3 separate regions of the Homo sapiens genome follow, and all the other regions are linked to region 1. Evidence: promoter capture Hi-C in 16 types of primary human blood cells and fetal thymus (Javierre and others, 2016). All regions are on one chromosome and are shown on one strand. The core of a region is centred on a gene start or on the middle of the fragment in contact, and the rest is flanking DNA. Distances in the headings are between cores, read along the strand shown. Region 1 holds the start of TMEM218 (transmembrane protein 218). Region 2 overlaps PKNOX2 (PBX/knotted 1 homeobox 2). Region 3 has its middle 28 kb from the start of ROBO3.

Region 1 (5,155 bases), core at 1,896-4,395:
ATAATGAAGTACAGTAGTCAGATGCTTGCACCTAAACTTAGAATCACCATGAATGCAAAAGCTTCAAATGCAGACTATGCAGGTGTGTTGTTCTGGCAACTCAAATACCACGAGCTGTGCTGCCTTCAGTTATGTGATTTGCTAGAGTGATGAACAACTCTTGTTAAAGTTCCAAACCACAAATAAGTATAATTTTCCTCTGATTTACATTAGAGTTGCATTCCTGGAAATTTTACTATATTAAACTGTGCCAAAAAATACATTATGTTTATACAAAAACCGGAGTTAGGCTCTACACTCAGATAATTATAAATGAGTATCCTGTGGGATACTCAAAATTTGCACAGGATGCAGGACAATTCTTCGTTGTGAGGACTGTCCCATACATTACAGAACATCCAGTATCCGCAGTCCTGATCTGTAAACCCCAGTAGTGCCTCCAATCAAAGAATAACAAAATACATCTTCACAAATTCCAAAACACCCTAAAACGGGCAGCAACATCTTCTTGGGGAACCACTGTTCTAGACACAGTCTTGCATAAAGAGACATGTACAAGGTGTTTATTGCAGCTTTGTTTACAATAGCAAAACATCAGGAAAAAACCTAAATGTCCATCAATCAGGGAACAGATACAATATTATATATTCATAATGAATACTTAAAATGAATGAAATTGATCTATATGTATTGATGTGAATATATCTCAAAAACAATGTTGAGTGACAAAAACAAGTTGCAAAATGGAACCCACAGTATGATACTACTTGTATTTTTAAAATTAAATACAATCTAAACAGTAATATATATTGTTTCTGACGAACGTATATACAGCAAAAGTATAAAAACATGGGCATAAACAATACATGACAATTTCAAAAGACTATTTGCCTCTGCAGAGGGAGGAAGGAAAGGGAATGGGGTTAGGAGTGGAAATAAAAGGGATCTGAACTAAATCTGTGATGTTTTATTTCTTTAAAATAAAAAACTTGAGCTGGTGTGCCAAAATGTTAATATTTATTAATCTGATTGGTGGAACATAGATATTATACTACCCAATGTACTATTTTCTGTTTTTAAATTTTTCGTGATAATTTTTAATTTTTAAAAAGGTAATGGGCAGCAGGATGCATATGAATTGGGTGACCAGTTAGGAAACTATTGCAATTCTCCAGATAAGAGATGATGAGGGTCTGACCTCCAGTCTTAGCTGTGTCAAGGGAGAAGGTGTTAGAAATGACACAAGTTTCTAGCTTAGTTGACTGAGCTGATGGTACTGCTCTTAAGAAAACAACTATTTAAATTTAATTTGTGCTATTCTGGATATTACACAAATAACCCAGAAGACTTGGACCAACTCTAACAGTTAGAATAGAGGGCAAATGGTAGTTGAAGCTGGCTGGCGCCATTAGAAATGTTGCCCTTCAATCCCCCTTAGTAGCTTAAGAGTTCGTGAGACATTGGATTTATATATGGTATGGCTTTAAAGTAATAAGATAAATATTCCCAAGCTCTTTTAAGAATGGAGCTCATAATTTTATAAGCAAACTATACATTTTCTTACTAAGCATAGAAAAGAAGGGCTGGGTATAGTATAGAGTGCTGCTATAGAGGAAGAGAGAACATCTAGTCATTTTTATCTTATTTAAATGTGAGAATAATATCTGTGATAATTTCCCATATTAGAATAGCTAAATTATTGTTATTGAGTACAATACAATAAAATATAAAAACGGGTTCATGCCATCATTAAACCTTCTTTGAGAAGTGATGGCTTGGCCAACCCGATTTCAAGGGTAAGTCCATTTACTTAATATCTGTGGCATTTAAAGCAGGTAGACTGGAGTGAAAAAAAATAATTTAAATTTGAACAGTTCAGCAGCTGACAACAAAAGCAACTACAGGGCTAATGTTTTCCTTCTGTGCTCAATGCTGTGAGGTTTTTCTCTGAGAGAGTTTGTTCAAAACCTTTTAGATGTGTGTGTTCATTTAATGGTTGTTTCTACATACCCTTTCATCCAGCTGTCAGAGAAAATAGGAATAAATGGACTGATCCCTGCACAGGTAACCTAATGGATTAAAAATACGGTACTCATCACCAGGTTGATCATCATGAGCGAGAATACTAACTGCCATTATAAGATGACTTATAAGATGACTTACTATCTAAGACAAATGTGGATTCCTCAGAGGGTAATGTGGCCTAAGTGCTGCTGCTGGAGGGAGATATCTCACCCATCCCCCGATTTTCACACTGACTCAAGCCCTTGAAAGCAACAGAAAACAGTGGGTTACAAGGAGTGAAGTGCTCCTCTGGAAGAGTCCTTTTCACTTTGCTTTATAGCTGTTTTCCAAACCTTCAAAAATAACGGGGGGGGGGGGTTACTTTCACACTTTTATGTTTCTACTTTAAACACTTCACTATCTTTTGAATTTTAAAATATTAGAATAACGCCTCTACCTTTGTAATTAGATAAAATGCAAGCCTGGGGAAAAAATCAGTTGCCAAGCTCCCAAAATGCCACCGATGTAGCATCTGCTCTTAACACGTTGATAGAAAAAGGAGGATCAGTAAACCTAGGTCTCTTCCTTGCATCCCTCTCCTGGACGGTGTTGTGGGTTGGAAGCGCTGCAGAGCCTCGGTCTATCCGCTCTCTGGATCTCACAGCACTGCAGCCTGGGAACACCCCACTTGAACTCTAAGCTTCTCCCCAACCCTGTTGCAGATTCAAACTGGCGACAGGAAAACAATGCCCCCCATGTCTCGTCTTCAGAATGTGCACCTGGCCACCTCCCAGGAGCTAGAGAGGGATTAAGGTCTCGGTCATAAGAGATCTGAATCAGGCACTGACACTTCCTTTTCTTAAGAGCATGAAACAAAACAGTCCTTCCTTCTCTGCCTCCAATTAAGTATTTATTAGCCGGGCCTTGGGTCCAGATCAGCGGTAAGGGTGGTCTGCGAGGTCCGTGCACCGCCGTCCGCCCACGCCTTCTTCCAACCACCTCAGCCCGACCCTCCACTTTTCTCCCTTCCCCGCAGCCGCCCCGCTTTCCTCACCTCTGCCCCCTTCACCTGGATCCACTCTCCCCCAGGCTCTACTCACACCTCAGATTCCGGCGCGTTCCAGCCCACGGGGCTCTGGTTTACTTAGGGCGAATCACAAGTGGGCTTTCATTTAGGTGATTTAAGATTCACTAATCAGCGTTGCTCTTTCAACGGCCAACTTCTTCCTCATTAGCTTACGCCTAGCGCGGCTCCCGGCAACGCCGAGCGCGGTGGGTTGGCTCGTCACCCTTCGTTACGCCCTCCGATTGGTCGGTGCCTGTCAGCCTTTGGACCGACCTCAGTTCGGTTGGGTAGCAGCGGTCCGAGCTGCACTCCCCGCCCCCCCGCCACTCCACTGTCAATCACACCATCTCTCCGTAACTCATTGGGCCATTGGTCAGTCTAGCCTGAGGGCGGGTTGTTGGGCGGAAGAGAGAGACTTCTTCCGGCCTCACTCGCTGTCACCATAGAGATTGCCCATCCAGGCAGCGAAGCAGCAGGGCCAGGCAGCTCAGATCTCGAACTCCAGAGAACTGCACAGTCATCTAGACATCAATGCCTTTTCCGGGGCCTGATGAACATCTCAATCCCCAACCCACTAGCTCGAGTGGGGCGCAAGATGTGGTGGACAAGTCAGCTCAGGCCCGGTCATTAAGTGTCCCCAACAACCCTCCTGGAGGGAACTGAGGACGAAGCACCAGTTGTAATAACGGCACGCTTCATTTATCTTTATCTCGACTTGTTTTATTTGGTATTTAATTCTTCCATTAGCCTTGCGAAACAGACAAAGGCAAAGATCATTCTACCCACGGGACAGACTGGGGAAGAGGCCCAGGGTCCATCAAGTAAACCCTCTGCCGCCAGGCTGCTGGAACTGGAGCTGGCCCACGCTATTGGCAGACTGCTGTTACCTAACTGCCAACTAAAGCTTGCCATGACTTTGCTTTGAGGCTATGGCCTGTTAGACCAAAAGATGCATCAATCAGGACAACCAAAGGAAGTAGGACAGAGGCTGCGTGCTCCACCACTGAATCAAGAAGGGGAAACAAACAATAATCAATACCAAATTGGAGAGCTGCACCGTTTGAACCTTTGACCTTAAACAAAATTTTAAGAAATATCATGAAGCAACCTATTCAATCTTAGAGCACTGAATCTCTGATTTAAGGAATTCTCCTGAATCACAGCTTTATGAACCAAAAAGAAGAAGATGCTTGAATTTCATCAACTGCACGTCTCAAATTTATTCAACTTTCGAGGCTTCATTTACAATCACATAAAGTAACCAATGATTTGTTGTGCGTTTAGCAACTTAACATTACTTGGCCCAGTGAGAAGCTCTGTGGCTAAGAAATCCTTTATTTTGATGAATTCATTTCACTGGAACTGAGTGTTGACTGCAGCTATGTTCTGTTAGGAACTGCGAAGATATACAAGAAATGAGATGTGACTCCCATCTTAATAGCCCGTGGTTTTGTAATGTTAGGTCAACAACACATGAAACAAGTAGGAAACACTTTAAAGCAAGATATAACAATGGGCCAACCCTATTGTACAATTAATTTCTCCAAAATATAATAATACTTCATATTTGCAGAACATTTCGTAGTTTCCAGAGCACTTCTTCCCTTGTATTATTTGGGGGATATTTTGTTATGGCTGGAATTAATGTGTGTGTCTTTATCATAGAGCTAGAACTAATGCTGGGTCCTAGCATATGAGTAGGAACAGGAAAGGTGGAACAGAATCCAGGAGGAGAAAGTAGTTTGAGCAAAGAGGCCAAGGCAAGAATGAGCACTGAGTATCTGGAGAATAATATGGAGACAAATGATGGAAAGTAATGTGTAGACAAGCTGGTCAGAACTGGCTCTGAGACCTTAATATTTTGGAGGAAAGTGGTCAAAAGTTCAAAGTTTGAGATTGGAAAAGTTAACTTCCTTACACTTCTAATGATCATACTGGCTTCAGTTAAGCTATAAATTAAAAATGGGCATGGCTCAACAGAACTTGAGTCCTGTCCTCTCGCTTTTCTCCTTAGGCAGCATGAGCTTCACCATTTGCTTTACCACCTCCACCAACTACCAGTCCCTGCATTCCATCCAGCCACAC
Region 2 (5,155 bases), core at 1,340-3,839, 290 kb after region 1:
CAGATCTCTGCCTGGAAGTGAGGCTGGCCCTGGGGTACCCACGGCAGAAAGGCCATTGATCAGCTGGGAAAGAGGAATCAGACAATTGCGTGGTGGGTGTGGGGGAGGGGGTGATGCAAGCGAGGCACTGAGAAAGAGAAAAGACACTAGTGAGGTATTCCTACTTGGTATTACTCAAACTTGTCCCTGCATTTTCTCTGACTGCCACCACCTGCTTTGTTCTGGCTTCGGGGGTAAATACGGTGATTACACATAGGCTATGACAGGAGCTTCCTAACCTGCTCTCCTGGCCATCCCTCAGCCCACCTGCACACCCATGCATCTCTTAAGCTTCTGCTGCTGGATTCATCTTTCTAACTTTGTTCATGTCATTCGCCTGCTCAGAAACCCTGCTTGCCATGCCCCTGGGGGTGGAAGGGAGGGCTTTCACATCTGCCCACCTGACATTCAAGGCCCTCCTAGGTCTGGCTTCAGCCTTCCTGGGTGGGCCAATCTGACTGTTCAAGGTGCTGTAACCATCACTCCATGCCTGTCTGTTCGGGTGACACCTCCCCCACAACCCCATCATCTCTGCACAACCAAACCCAGCTTCTTCCCCAAGGGTAGGAACAAGGCTGCTCACCCAGGAGGACTCCCTGATGCCCCATCCAGAATGGACGCTTCCTGCACTCCACTAACTGGTGGAGCTTGCTGAGCCATCGATATGGCAAAAGTCACTGTGACTTTATATTATAGATCCCTGTGTTCATCTCATTTTCCTATCCTAGATAACACTTTTTGAGCAGAGACAGTATTTTACATGTTTGAAATCACCAAATCACCTTATTATAGGCCAAAAACAGCCATTTCCAGCCTCTGCCTGCTGATAGTCTCTTGAAATAGACTCATCCCTTCAGAGTCCTAGTGTACTCTCCCTGTGACCCCAGCAGTGGCTACCACAAGGTCTTGTGCAAGAAAGATGGCCGGGAAGTATTTATTGAAAGAAATAATGGAATGAGAGAAAGAAAGTTGGGTGGGGGGCAGGGGCAAGGGGAAGCCAAAGGAGGAAAGGAGAAATAGGAAGAAAAATAAAGGGAAAGAAAGCCAAATATGCAGGGTCAACATTCAGGAGGGAAGCAGAGACAGGCTGAAGAATTGGAGGAAAAGAGCAAGAGAGAGAGACAGGGAGGCACACAAACCCAGGAAAAGGGAGACGATACTGAGAACGACGGGGCAGAAGGACAGACGGAGAGAGGAACGGCAGCAAGAGTGACAGCAAGTGAAAGGACAATGCATGTGGCTCAGTGCGCAGCCAGGGTACGAGGAGGCGGGAAAGTCAGGAGGATGTGCTATGTGCTGCTCCTGTTGTATTACTCAAACTTGCCCCTGCATTTTCTCTGACTGCCACTGCCTGCTTTGCTCAGGCTTCAGGGGTAAATACGGTAATTACACATAGGCTATGGCAGGAGCTTCCTAACCTGCTCTCCTGCCTTCTCTGGCCATCCCTCGGCCCACTTGCACACTCACACGTCTCTTAAGCCTTCCCAGGACAGGCCCCTGTCATTATTGCACTAAGGTAGGGGCCGGGCTTGCATGGGCTCTCCCAGGAAGGAGAGGCCCAGGGCTGCTAAGAATCGGGGACCGAGACTTTCAGTGCAGGAGGCAGGTCTTGGGTTCAAGACACAGGAGCCTGTATGAGAGAGAGAAAAGGAGCTTGTGAGTGTGTGTGTGTGTGTGTGTGTGTATGTGTGTGCACACGCGGGCACATGCATTCGTCATGGTTCACCCTTAATCCCCCCGGCCTGAAATAGCCTGAGCACCAGCCTGGCCTGGGGAGGGGTGTCTCCCCTCTGGAACATGATCCTCTGGATCAACATTCCAGCCGCCTGCCAGCTTTGTTGCAAACTGCTGGCTCATGGTTTTCCCTGTGTGCTAATCATCCAGCCTTGTGTTGCAAAGCGGGAGACATTTTTGTTTTCAACTTGGTATCCCCACTCCCAGATGCTATGCCGTGTCCTCCATCCAGATCGATGGGTTGAGCGTTTTCCTGCTCGGCCTTCGATTTCTCTGTGTGAGTCTTCTCTGCTGGGCAAAGTGGAGATGGGAAGTAAGGGAGACTGTTCTACCAAGCAGGGGACTAAAGCAGACTTTCAAAGACCTGGGCCACAGCTAGATTTTCCCCCTCCCTAGGAACCCATCCTGTGCTGCAGGCACCCAATGACACCCAGGCTTCCTACTCCTCAGAGCCCAGGCTTCTTGTGGGGGCAGGATCCTCTGTAAGGAGACTGGTTCTAGACCCTACTCTGGGTTCTCCTGTCCTTCCTAGAGGGCGCAAATGGAACCATTCCACTAGAGAGACACCTCACTCAAGTATTAGTTTGACCTGAAATTCATCCTTTTTTCTCTGTGGAGATTTAAGCCTCAGCTCTATTCCAGGCAAATTGGATTGAATCATGGTTCTCATTCAATTGCCAAGCGTTTGGGGGGCACTCACTGTATGTTCTGTGCTAGGTCCTGTGAGAACAGACACAAGCCATTGTCCAAGAGGAGCTCCCAGTCTCAGGGAGAGAGAGCCATGAGTCACAATGAGGATCTAGATAAATCATGTCAGCCGTGAAATGCTCAGGGTCAAGAGTACAGAGGAAAGGAGCAGCCAAAGAGATGGGGAGAGGAGCTGCAGGCAGGGATTCTGGATTGGGTGATCCACATGTGTGGCTTGAGGTTGCCCCAGTCTCAACTCAGCATCCTTCATCCTTCCTCAGAGGGGGACCAAGTCCCAGACCCAGCCCTCACACCTTCATGGCCAGTTTGTTCCTGCTCCACAATAGGATAAACAAACCTCAGTACAGAGTGGAGAGGACAACAGGAGGATTTTGCCCATTGTGATTGGAGAAGTTACAGATTCATTGGCCTTGGGAGGGCTTCCTCTGGGAGGTGGCATTTCAGGCAGGCTTGGTGAGAGTTGGTAGCCTATTTGGCAACCTTTATAAAGGTGAGTGTTTCCAATGTAGCAAGAAGTCTGAAAGAAGGCGAGAAACAGAGAGAGCCAATCAGAATCCCTAGAGAGGAGATGGGGTGAAGGGGGCTCATTCATTCACGCATCCTGCATCCATTCAGGCACCTCTGGAGCCTACTGAGTTCTGGGGATATAAAAAATGGATGCGACACAGTCCCAGGTCTCCAAGTGTAATGATGGAGTACCTTGAAGCCAAATGTGTGGGAGTTCTGTTTTGGGGCTAATAGTGGTGGCCGACTGCTAAAGACTTTAAAGGTAGTGGAGAATGTAGGCAACAGGGTCAGGGCTGGAGACACGCTGGAGACAAATCAATTGAGCAGCCACATCTTGTATTGGTCCAAGAAGAGCTGGCAGAAGGAGGGGAGACGGTGAACATTTATTGAGCTCCCCTCTGTCTCAAACATGGTGTGTACTAGGTGCTTTCCACAGATTATCTAATTTACTCTTCATGACAGGCTGCAAGGTACACATGATTTTCTCCATTTTACATCCAAGAAAAGAGAAGCTGAGAGAAGTGAAGACCCTGGCTCAAAGTCACACACCTAGCAAGTGCTGGAGTCCGGGATGGGCTACTCCAGAGCCCATGTTCTTCTTGCTACATGGGGATATGTTTTTGTGACACATGGGGAGAAGAATCAGGGGTCCTGGGACCTGGGTGGAGAGTGATGACCCTACCTAGCTATTGGTCAGTGGGGTAGGGACTACAGAGGAAGAAGCCAATTGCTACGAAGCAAGAATTTGGATTTGCTAGTAGACTGGAAGTAGGGAAATGAGAGGTACAAAGTTGAGGACATTCTGAGATGCTAGGCCCAGCTGCCAGATGCGACTCTGCAGCTCTGCGCCTCCCCAGCAGAATAGGAAGGGGGCTAATCAATGCATCCCCACCTGAGAAGGGTGGCACTTGCCTATTGACCTCTAAGGAATTTTGGATTTTCCAGATTGGCAGGGGGCGGAAGGGGTAGGGGGCCATCACCTCAGCCAGGACCCTAGAGGTTCTGCCCAGTGGCTAAGCATCCTGAGGACAGGACCAGGGAGAAGACTGGATGGGGCTGGGGTAGGGGGCAATCTACCCTGGAAAGATCACTACTTAGATGGACAGGGGGCATCCCTAGACTGAAGTGGAATAAAATGAGCCACACTGCCTGTCACAGGCATTAAAGCTGTCTCTTCTGCCGGTTCCTCACCCCCAGCCCTGCAGCCGTGGAGCCCAGAGACCAGAGGGTGGCCTTTGCCGCCAGGCTAGTGAAACCTGAGCGCTTCTCCCGCCTGAGAAGGAATGTTCCTTAAGAGCAGCAGCTGCTGCTTGTCCCCACAGGCCAGAACTGCCTTTCCCTTGAGACCAAGGCCCCCAACAGGAGTGGAACAAGAACAGGATTAGGTGGCTTGTTTACATGTGCTTGGCTTTCCCGAGTTTGGGAATCTGGCTTTTCTTGGTCTAAGACAGGGCCCTGGCTCTGCCAGAACGGAGGGATGCTGCCGGGAAGGGGTGTCTGGGGACAGGGACAACCTCTCCACCCTCCTAAGGCACATTTGCGCGGGCACACACACAAACACACACATCACACACACACAAACACACACACACCACCACACACAGGAATACACCCACAGCCTTAGGCCAAAGTCAGACCACACATGTATCTCGCATGTACCATGCACTTAACATTGCGCTAAGCAGTTTCGGGGAATTCAGAGAAAGACCCCTCTTTCCCTCAAAAAGCCTGCCACCAAGCTAGGGAAAGACGACGCCTGCATTAGAGAGAACCATTCTGTTGTGTCCAGTATGTAAGGCAGATGGGAGGCTTTGAAGAGTCCAGAGGACGGGCCGCGGCTGTGCCCTGGAGAGGTCAGGACAAGCTTTCCAGCAGAAAGGAGACATTCAGAACCGACCCCCACCCGCCCCGAGCCCAGGCAGGGGAGCCGCCAGCACGCGCCTTCTGGGAGGCTTTGGTGAGTGTGGTCTGAGCCGGTGGATCAGCAGAGACCTCTAGTGGCCGGGGGGAGGATGGCAGGTGGCTGGGGCTGGCTCCGCACTGCACCCCACTCCGGCCACCGACTCACCGTCACCCACCCTCCCACACAATCCTTAGGAAATGGCATGGGCTCTTTTACAGTCCTCAGCTGGAAGGATCTTTGCCAGGCCATCCCGTTCATTCCCCT
Region 3 (5,155 bases), core at 1,270-3,769, 270 kb before region 1:
CGAATAAATTCAAACATATCACTTGTAGTGGTTTACATAAGGGCTTGCTAGTTCAAATGGGGTTGTTAGTTTTGCATCTCAAATTAGTTCCTGTCAACCCAGCAACTAAAGAAAATTCCTTTGTGAAAAAAGTTTCCAGGCATGACCCAGTAATTGTTTTAATGGATTTTCAATGAAGGGTGAAGTACCATGCTATGTAGCCTGTGGGCATTCCATAAATATATTTTGACTGATTCTGTTAACAAACTACATAGAAAAAACCAAATACTTACTATCCAATCCTCTTATATTGTTTCCCATAGGCTCTGTCTGTTAGTGTATTTATAAGCATTTAAAGTGTATAAGGGAGCTCTGGCAGTGAGAGTGAATTGCCCAATGCAGAGAAGCACTCTGGGCTGGAGGGTTTTACTTAGTCTAAGATTTTCTTTTTTTTTTTTTGTGAGACGGAGTCTGGCTCTGCCGTCAGGCTGGAGTGCAGTGGCATGATCTTGGCTCACTGCAGCTTCCGCCTCCTGGGTTCAAGCGATTCTCCTGCCTCAGCCTCCCGAATAGCTGGGAGTACAGGTGCATGTCACCACGCCTGGCTAATTTTTGTATTTTTAGTAGAGACAGGGTTTCACCATGTTGGCCAGGATGTTCTCGATCTCTTGACCTCGTGATCCACCCTCCTCGGCCTCCCAAAGTGCTGGGATTACAGGCGTGAGCCACTGTACCAGGCTACTTAGTCTAAGATTTTCAGTGTGCACCTGAGATTTGCCCTTTCCAAAATGAGGAAGAGGCCTGAAGCCGATCAGCTGAAAGAAGTACTAAGCCCTGCAGGCTGAAAAGGTAATGTCCCACCTATGCTGGAGGACCTGATGTTGGTATAGTCAATTTTCTGTCTTCTATGTAAGGTATAGATCTGCTCTGATCTTGACATTGTGAAGAAAGCTACTATACTGTCAGAATCTGCTGTAATATAGCCCTGAGATGAGAAAGGTGTGTAGAACAGAAATCTTCACTGCCCTTCTCCCAAAACATTCATTGACCCCTCCTGTAAGATATATATATATATATAATTATTATTTTTTCTAGACAGAGTCTCGCTCTGTTGCCCAGGCTGGAGTGCAGTGGTGCAGTCTTGGCTCACTACAATCTCAGCCTTCCAGGTTCAAGGTTCCCAGGTTCCCAAGCAGATTCTCGTGTCTCAGCCTCTTGAGAACTGGGGCTACAGGCACACGCCACCACACCTGGCTAAGTTTTATATTTTTAGTAGTGATGGAGTTTTGCCATGTTGGCCAGGCTGGTCTTGAACTCTTGATCTAAGGTGATCCGCCAACCTTGACCTCCCAAAGTGCTGAGATTACAGTCATGAGCCACCGCGCCCGTCCTGCATTCTTGCTGTGTGTGTGTAACCCTTGCTATAGTTATATAATTTAGGTTGAATTTAATTTATACGTTGACTATGATCTGAGGGTCAAGATCATTTGGGATAAAGGAGAGATCAACTACATGTCCGTATACTGCAAGTTAGAATTTAGTTAAGAAGGCCCTGAGTAGATTCCAGAATTATAATAAAGCTTTCATTTTTAGTTTGAGGAAACTTCAATATGGGCGACAGAACAAAGAACTCGGGTGGTAGGAATTAAGTTGGTAGGAATTAAGAGGGTGCCTGCCAGACGGGCTGGAAGTGAAGGAAGCCATGTGCCTGCAAAGCTGTTTAGGGCTGCCATGTGTTTATGCCCTGGCAGAAACCTCTGGTTAGAAGTTAGATCGCTTACATTTTTCTTAAGTAACCCATTTTGTTACATCCATATGTTTTCCCTCTTTCCAGAAGGAAAAAAAAGTATCAGCGAGCCCTTCCTCACGGATCAGGAAGCTCAAGGGATTACTCAAGTACATTGGCGGCAGTTACAAAGATATTTTCTTTTTTTTTTTTTTTTTTTTTGAGACGGGGTCTCGCTCTGTTGCCCGGACTGGAGTGCAGTGGCGCGATCTCGGCTCACTGCAAAGCTCCGCCTCCCGGGTTCACGCCATTCTCCTGCCTCAGCCTGCCAAGTAGCTGGGACTACAGGCGCCCGCCACGACACCCGGCTAATTTTTTGTATTTTTAGTAGAGACGGGGTTTCACCGTGTTAGCCAGGATGGTCTCGATTTCCTGACCTCGTGATCCACCCGCCTCGGCCTCCCAAAGTGCTGGGATTACAGGCGTGAGCCACCGCGGCCTACAAAGATATTTTCAAGCATTGTTCTCCCTACCCCAAATTTCTGAGTCATTTAAGTAGAGAAACAGCTCTTTTGCCCTGGCTCATATATGAAAAAAGTAGAATTCAGGCCAGGCTTCAAGTCTAGGGATGATTCTCATTAATGAGGTTAGGTCTGCCACCTGGTGGTGAGAAATAAAATGCCACTTGATTTTCTCATCTGATCTGTCCATATACCACACTTAAAAATTCCACTTTGCAAATCCATCCTTAACCTCTGACTCGGGTTGTGCTTGCCGCCAGCCAAAAGTTCCCAACTGATGACAACGGCACCGACACCTTGGGGAGAATTTTTAGGCAACCATCTGGAACTCATTCCCTATGAACACATTTGAAGTGTTTTAGAACACTGGTAGGTGGTTCTACAACACTTCAAATGTGACTTAAGGTAGATTTTAGGAGAACAAGGTTCTCCTAAAGAGGAAAGATAGCACTAATTCATTCATTAGTACACAAACTATTGTGTAAAAAAAAACTATGCTCTTCAATTTGTAAACAAATGTGTAAGACAATGCCCCGCTCCATCAGTGACAAAGAGATGGGAGTGGATAACCAAGTTAGGCTGGGAAAATAAGAGTAATTCTTGCTTCCCGTTGAAAGGCTGAGGAGAGTGCAGAATCATCTGAAGCCATTAGGGGGAGTGCTAAGTCTTCAGAAACACACACACACACACACACACACACACACACTCGAATACTAGAATATGAATTCTGGAATATGTCCACAATTATTTGGGGATTTGGCCTATGGATCCCTCACAGAGGGTGAAGATACCCAAGTACCCTGGAGAGCTTCAGCTTCCAGTAACCTCCTCCAGCACTGAAGACTTCAGCTCCTTCCTTTTTTCACCTGCCCCTATTTTCCTTTCCTTGTAGGCCAGTACTCTCAAAGTGTGGCCCCCAGTATCACCACTGTCACCACCTGGGAAACTTTCAGAAATGCAATATCTCTGCCCGTACCCCAGATCAAAGGAATCAGAAACTGTAGGGCAGGGTTAATAAGGCCTCCAGGTGATTTTCATGCAAGCTGTGAATCTCTAGTCCAGGGGTGTCCAATCTTTCGGCTTCCCTGCCACATTGGAAGAAGAATTGTCTTGGGCCACACATAAAATACACTAGCTAAAAAATTTTTTTTTTTGCAAAAAACCTCATCATGTTTTAAGAACATATATGAATTTGTGTTGGGCCGCATTCAAAGGTGTTCTGGTCTGCATGCGGCCCATGGGCCGTGGGTTGCACAAGCTTGCTCTAGTCTTAGGGTGATCCTCTGGGCACAGACCAGGGAGACTTGTCGGAGTGGGAGCTAAGGGGAGAAGCAATGGGTCCTAGAAGCCAATCTAGTTACCCAGTCCAGCCCAGAGTGTTAGAGGGAGCAGAGAACAGCCACAAAGGGAGGTGGCAGAGGTTTTTGCCAACTGAGCACCAGCTTTGTGGACACTGACCCTCCAATCACCCTTGGTCACAAGATCTTCAGATGGGAGACTCAGTCTTCAATTAAAGCGACACTAGAGAAGAATCCCTACAGTACCCAGAGCAAATAAGATAAATAGGGCTGTGTCCACCCCACCTGGGTGCAGCTCCAGCTCTTTTCACTCCCTTCCAGATCCGCGGAAAGCACCCCTGACACGCATATATTTGTGGATGGGATACCTGGATTGAGAGCGAACTCCATCAACCCCCCGAGACACTGCACCCTGCTCCCTCCTCTGCTGGAGGAACTGCCACTTTCTAAAGGAAAATACTATTTAATGTGCAGAATTACAGTACACACAATACTTATAGTATGGCAAGTATTAGTCCTTGGTATTTTTTCCGCCACCTTTTCCCATCTCCCCATCCTGTATGCCTGTGCCTCCTTACCTTTCTAGCACAAAACAGGCACTTAAAAAATAGTGCAGAATGAACAGCTGAAGCTTGCTTCTACTATCTTCCATATTTTTCTCTGGCTGCTGTCAAAAAGCGCCAGCTCAGAGCCAGGGTGGCCGACTTTGTCACAGTCTCTGCTGGAAAACGACATTTTTTAGGGGGAAAATCATAAGCCAATGCAGACATGTCCCTGCCCCCTATTCCTTCTCCCTGCACGTGGGCACACAATGGGCGGCCGGCAGAGGTGGGGGAGTGAGGAGCACAGGCTCCGTGTGTCCAAAGTCCCGGGTCACCTCGGCCTGGAATCCATCTAACTCAGCTGCAAACCAGAAGACGCGGCCTGGGAGGGGCGTAGAGCCCTCCCCCACCTCCCCGGGCTGGGTGACTGTCAGGCCGCATCTGCTCCAAATTTATGGCTCCTCCTCGGGCCGCCGCCGGCCTCTCCACGGCCTCTTTACCAACTGCAGCCCCAGCTGAGACCCCTCCCGCGGGGAGGGAGGGAACACGAAGCGCGGCCGGGGCTGGGGGCGGGGAGCAGGTGTGAAGCGGGGTGGCAGCGGCGCGCGGTCACCCTCCACCGCGCCGCGGAGACCCGGCGTCACCCCCACGCGCACACAATGGCGCGGGGGCCAGGCCGAGGACGGCCCATTAGCGGCTGATGGAGGAGGCGGGAGCCCGGCGGGCCGCCTAATCCCCGCACGCGGACACCTGGGTGGGAGCGCGGGCGAGTGGAGGGCGCGCCTGCACGCAGGATCCCGGGCTGGGCAACGGCCTAGACCGCCTCTCGCCAAACCTCCCACGCCAGCGCCAGTCCGACGAACAGGAGCTGGTCCAGCGAACAATAAAAGGCCCCGGGGCTGGGGAGGGATGGAAGCGCCCTTGGAGCGCGCAGGCTACGGGCGCCCCCGGCAGCGCCCCCGCGCCTTCCCCTCCCGCCCCGCGGCCGCTGATTGCCTATTGTGCGTCCCCTCTGCGGCCGCCCGCGCGATGCACTCTGCGAGCTGGCCCCTTCGTTTCTAAATGAGCAGCCAGCGCCGCAGACACGTG

The links. The method cuts DNA at HindIII sites, captures the fragments that hold promoters and counts their contacts. A CHiCAGO score of 5 or more calls a contact.
Region 2: a contact is called between a fragment that was not itself captured here and the fragment with the promoter of TMEM218 in region 1, in 1 of 17 cell types (endothelial precursors). The highest score is 7.2, in endothelial precursors.
Region 3: a fragment that was not itself captured here is called in contact with the fragment with the promoter of TMEM218 in region 1 in 2 of 17 cell types (total CD8 T cells and fetal thymus); the score reaches 5.5 in total CD8 T cells.

What each region holds. Positions count from the first base shown.
Region 1 is chr11:125,108,481-125,113,635 of GRCh38, forward strand. It overlaps TMEM218 (transmembrane protein 218), which reads right to left and starts at 3,146. Exons shown (of 5, transcript NM_001258244.2): 1 at 3,059-3,146. It also overlaps the pseudogene KRT18P59. RefSeq lists enhancers at 2,841-2,930, 3,286-4,198, 3,561-3,740 and a silencer at 3,401-3,470. The HindIII fragment of the contact is 1,270 bases long and covers 2,703-3,972 here.
Region 2 is chr11:125,400,068-125,405,222 of GRCh38, forward strand. The region is part of intron 7 of PKNOX2 (PBX/knotted 1 homeobox 2); the gene reads left to right. Among named protein-coding and RNA genes, the nearest start is that of FEZ1, 94 kb to the right of the region's middle. The HindIII fragment of the contact is 4,522 bases long and covers 329-4,850 here.
Region 3 is chr11:124,834,795-124,839,949 of GRCh38, forward strand. No RefSeq gene overlaps it. Among named protein-coding and RNA genes, the nearest start is that of ROBO3, 28 kb to the right of the region's middle. The HindIII fragment of the contact is 1,925 bases long and covers 1,558-3,482 here.